Linked DNA regions of Homo sapiens: region 1 is linked to region 2. Evidence: promoter capture Hi-C in human tissues and cell types (Jung and others, 2019). All regions are on one chromosome and are shown on one strand. The core of a region is centred on a gene start or on the middle of the fragment in contact, and the rest is flanking DNA. Distances in the headings are between cores, read along the strand shown.

What was found. Contacts are between HindIII fragments. The study calls those that stand out against the background at their distance.
Region 1: a contact is called between a fragment that was not itself captured here and the fragment with the promoter of PTHLH in region 2, in 1 of the 25 tissues and cell types used here (lymphoblastoid cells).

The regions. Positions count from the first base shown.
Region 1 is chr12:29,039,468-29,042,234 of GRCh38, reverse strand. LOC101928735 (a long non-coding RNA gene) reads right to left here and starts at 1,619. Exons shown (of 5, transcript XR_242930.3): 1 at 1,343-1,619; 2 at 601-782; 3 at 227-367. RefSeq lists an enhancer at 1-843. The HindIII fragment of the contact is 5,013 bases long and covers 1-2,767 here.
Region 2 is chr12:27,971,464-27,974,163 of GRCh38, reverse strand. It overlaps PTHLH (parathyroid hormone like hormone), which reads left to right and starts at 1,431. Exons shown (of 6, transcript NM_198965.2): 1 at 1,431-1,641; 2 at 2,145-2,237. The HindIII fragment of the contact is 6,422 bases long and covers 1-2,700 here.

The sequences.
Region 1 (2,767 bases), core at 172-2,671, 1.1 Mb before region 2:
GGCAAAGTAAGGAAACACATTTCAGATCTCTATAAGAATGCAAAATGACACTGAATGCTGCCTGCCCCACAGCCCTCCACACATGGTAACCTTCTAATTACAGAATTTCCATCCAATCTCCTTTGAAAGCTTACGAATAGTCTTTTCCTTTCTTCCTCTTTTTCAGGCTTTGTTTCCCCTTAGATCTGTGATGCTGTCCTTATTTCATGAAATCAGGATTCCTTACCTTCCGGAGACTCAGTTACTGATTTAGAGAATTATTTTTCTTTTGTGAAGATGTCAACAAATTGTTCAAGACCGCGTTCTTGAAACAGCCTGTCTTTGGTCTTTTGAAGGTCAAAGTCCATGGACATTAAATTTTATTACTCTAGAAAGAACCACAAGACATTAGTCACTGCTAGTTGCATTCTTATGCTATGAAAGACTTTTATTACTCCTGTTTCTATATATAGAACAGTTCCTCCGTTTTCCCACTGTTTTTAGAACAAACTTTTATGCCCCTATACTGTCACCCATTCTGCAGCAGAAACTCTGCTAAGCTCAGCAGACACTTCAGAAGTGCTTGGTTCTGAGACATCTGAGGCATTGTTTGAACTTTACCTCTGATTTGTGGTCATGGCAAGGGCAAGATGTTTAAGTTCTTCAATCTCGGATGCATATAAGTCTGGGAATCCATCAGCAAGGGCCTTGGGCTCAGTCTTCTGTAAGTGATCATTCTTGTGAACAATCTCTTTCCACTTCATCATGGTGCTCTTGGATGGCCCTCAACAGGAAGATCAAGACTGCAGTGAAAAGAAAATACACCACCTTACTCATATAAACTGAAAACTCACTGATAATGTTTGTGCATTTTTTACACTTGACTTTATAATATGATAATTTTTAATGTCCTTAGATAATTTTAAAATATGAGTTATGAGTTGAATAGTATGTAATGTGTTAACATATAAGTGTATAAGTATATACATATGTATATGAGTAACATGTGCATGTTAACATATGAGTGTATAACAGTTTATGTTAACTATGTAACAATTTACTTAATTTTTGAACAGATTTGTTAAATATATAAATTTTTTATTTTTAAAACATTGAATTGTACTAAGGATCTTATTCTTAATGATTTTTGTTTGTTTGTTGATTTAGTTTGATTTTTTGTTGTTGTTGTTGTTGTTTTGAGACAGGGTCTTGCTCTGTCACCCAGGCTATGTTTTGCAGGAGAGCAAACCTGACTCACTGCAGACTCAACTCCTGGGCTCAAGTGATCCTCCTGCCTCAGCCTCCAATATATCCGAGACCACAGGTGCATGCTGCCACACCTGGTTAATTTTTAAAATTTTACCTTGGGTTTGAACATCAGAATGCTAACAGAAGTTTCTTAACTTTCCCTTTATCTCCTCTCATATTTATGCTGAGGCTCTTAGGGAGTAGAACTGAAAACAAAATAGAGGCAAGGCCTTCTGGTTTTTCGAAGCAGCAGTTTATCAGTTCCAGGGAACAAAGCAGGAGAAAGATGACTTGGCATGAACTCTCAGGGCTGGCTCCCTTGGTGTTGGTAAAGGTGAGTCCCTCCAGGTAGTAGCATCAGTTACTTGGGCATTTATGTCTCCATGGAGACCGGGGAGAGAATAATAGGGCACTCCTCATTTTGAACTCAGAGGGAGGAGCTGCTCTGAATCTACTTTGTCTTAAAGTGACTGAAAACTTCAGACCACACAACTGGATGTAAGATGGGCAGTAAAAAACAGACACTTGGACACTTGGTTTTAGTTTGGGCCCCCTGTCCAGTGTACGGTGGCTTTTCGACTCTGTGCATGAGGCCACCCCACTCCTCTTCTCAGTACTTTGAAGCTTCTGTTTATTTGGATGATTCTTTCTTAGTACTAAAATACATTTTCCTCTATGTGCTCCCTCACTGTTTTACTGTTACCTCTAACGCCCTGAGTAATTTCCCCTGGCCCACCTCTGATTTCAGCCATAACTGTGATGATAGTTCAGCGCAACCTTAGAATCACCTTGTACTGACAGGTGCACCGTGCATCTTTTCACTTTCTGTTCTAGGGCTATCTCACACTCTGCAGAAGCCTGGAAGATCCTGCTTAGCCCATGCGCAAATTCAGTCTAGAATTTCAGGGTAGTAAATAACCATCCATAAATAGGATGAGAGCCAGTGTATAAGGACTACAGGCTTCCATTCTTTGGACTGTTAAGTTATAATTCTAGGAAATATTTTGCATGCTTTTCTTGAGGTTCTCATTGTCCACAGCAGATATTTTGATGTTTCCTTATATTTTCCTCTCTTCCTTCCTTGTTTCACTCCTTTCATTACTTCACTCCTGTGTCCTGGGATTATATCCCAAATATAATAAAATATCCTCACCCATGTCCTTGTCCTATCCACTGCTTTCAGAGAACCCAAACTAAGACAGTTGGCATACAAGTGGTCCTTAGAAGCCAATTCTCAGAATTGGATTGTAGAACTGGTATACTAACCAGTTAGAAGAAGTAAGGATGGCATTGCTGGTATGAGTAGAGAGGTGATAAACTCCAGGGTGGTCATAACTGTGTTGCAGCATTACAGTTACTAGGATGCTCACCAGTGCTGGATTTGGAGAAGGTACAGATATAAGGAGAAGCAATGGTGTGTAGCAGGGATTGGACTATTAGAAGTTGTGGGCCAAATATGATTCATTGCCTAATTTTATACATAAAATCTTACTGAAACACAGCCATGACCCTTCACTTATGCATTGTCTATGGCTGATTG
Region 2 (2,700 bases), core at 182-2,681:
CATATTCTCTCTCTCTCTCTCTCTCTCTCTCTCTCACACACACACACACACACACACACACACACACACAGAGACATATCTGAAGAAGACTCTTCAGATATGTTTCAATTGTCAGGAGTTTGCGAGGTGCTCAAGTGCTTGACCTTTAAGAACCGGTTCTCAGAGACCCCCATTTCCTAAAGACCTTCTCATCTCACATTGGTTTGGGTTCCTCCCAGGAAACCGCCTCCTCTCTGGGCCTCCTGCTTCAGTTTGGGGGAAGCAGAACATTGCCCAGGAAGTAGGGAAGGGTGAGGAAGGGTGTGAGGCCCACTTTTCCCATGGGAGGATCCCATCAGCTTGATGCATATCTATACACTCCTCCCTGAGGCAGTTCCTCCAGAGGTTAGCAGCCCGCCCTGTTCCTGGAGAAGTCTTATCCTCACCTAACTACAAAAAGATTTAATAAAGAAACACACCCTTTCCTATTGTTACTTGGGGTTTGAAGGCATTACATCTTTTTTTCTTTTTTGCTACCTTGAGGTCAGCTGGCAACAGCCTCCTCTCAAGTCTCAGTCCAGGCGAGCGATGAGAGCCACATTCTAATGGAATCCAATGAGAGCATTACTTGAGCTGATTATGCAACGTCTCTTTGTAAACATTGAAAAAAGTTTGGAGAAGAGATGGGATGAGTTTAGTTGTTTGGTTCCAGGGGATTTTAGAGACATAGCTTGCAGCTACAGATTGGTAAATGTGAAATCTGGATGCTTATTGGTAATAAGAGAATTCCCAAGCCCAGGTGCACTGTTTAAAGTGCTATAGATTCATATTTGGTTTATAATGTATATCTGTTTGCTGTTTGGGTTAAGGAGGAAAGAAGAAAGAAGGATGAAGAGGCTAAGCATAAATGCTATTTACTTTTTTCTAAGCTATGACAGGAGATATACATTAACTGGGTATTCAACTGAATTTAAGAGTAATGCATTTAAAATTTTTTCAACCTCTTTTAAAATTTGATATACTGTAATAAACTGCCACTGGGGATGGGAAGATGGAAGCCTGGTGCTCATGGGCTAGGCATTTGTGTAGGTGTAGATCTTATAATGCTAAACATGGAAATACTTCAGATTAGAGGCAGGCCTTCCCATTTGCTAAGGTGCATTTACATGACAGCAAGGCCTAAGCAAACATTTAGCTTCTATTGGCACTTGTTCTATTTCTAAACCTTAGAAAAAAGGTGTGTGTGTGGGCTGGGGGGACGGGGGGGGGAGGGAGGTGGTAGGGGGTGCTCTTGCTGTGTCTCATTTGCAGTCATGCATCCTCTGCATTATTATGATGGAGATTACTCAGTTATGTTAGGAACTAGATTATGATGTCAGAAAATATCCTTTCCAAAACAGGCAAAAAGTCAGGGTCCTGGGTATATATTGAGGAGAATTTCTACGGAAAGTAATAAACAGGGCAGCTTGGAAGAGGTACCTGCTTTCTAATAATTGCCTTTAGTGGGAACAGAAGTCTCCTTTCAAGAAGCTTTTAATTCATTTTAAGATTTAATTTTATGTTTTCTGAAGAACAACAAAAAATATTTCTGGAAAAGACTGCTGAGAAGATTTCCCTCTTTCAGCCAGAAGAGCAGAGAGAAGATTGTAAATCAAGGAAAAGGTGAAGTAATAAATTAGGAGGGAACTTTGGTATTCCGAGTATATAAAGACTATTTATTTTTCCTGTGTCTATATTTTCTCTTTTTGTGGAGGAGAGGAAATTCTAAAAATATTTGATAGATGTTTTGCCATTAACACCAGAAAAGTGTGTGGGGAAAAAGAAAGGAGGGAAGGAGTGGGGGGTTAATTTTGTTTAATTAGTAGAAAAAGCAACATAAATCAAAGCAGTCTATTGATGCCAGTCCTTAATTTATAATGTTCTGAAAGTAAAGTGAATTTATTTACAACATAAGTGATTTGATAATTTCAATCTGATTTTTGTTTTAACCTTCTATTGGGAGAAGGGTTGACTTTTTAAAGCCTGGATAGTTTGAAACTTGGCTAGGTACCTTGGACTTTTTATTGTGGAAGCAAATATTATCATTTCAATGTTAAACAACTTGCAAGTATTAAATGGCTCATTTGTGATTGACTTTTTTTTTTTTTTTTTTTTTTTTTTTACAGATTTCCCCCTTCAGATCTAACGATTACATTAGGGCTCCTGCATCTTTTTGGAAGGATTCTTTTTATAAATCAGAAAGTGTTCGAGGTTCAAAGGTTGACATTTCTGAGTGCTGATACTTTGTCCTTTCATACTATCCAAACAAGTCTAACATTTAGAAATCCTTACACATTCAAGGGAAGTTGTGGAAATTCCCAGAGAGAGAGTGTGTGTGTGTGCGTGTGTGTGTTTTGGTTTTGTTTTGCTTTTTTTCTTTGTTAGTGAGAAGAAGCCGAGTCTTTTAAGGTACGGGGTTTACAGTAATGAACTGAGGAAGGCAGGAGCTTCTAAGAAAATATGCCCCCCCACCCAACCTAAGCAGTAAACTTTAACTGCTAGCTAGCTGCAGTGAACCAGTGGGAGCCCCGATGAGCGAGGGTCTCGGTGACAGCGTGCTATTTCTCCCACCCTGGGTAAAATATGTGGAGCATCACCCGGAAAGTCGGGCTTGATAAAGGCCACATTCCTTGAATCATCTCAAGAATCTAAATCACACTAGCCTTCTAGAAACTAATGAAC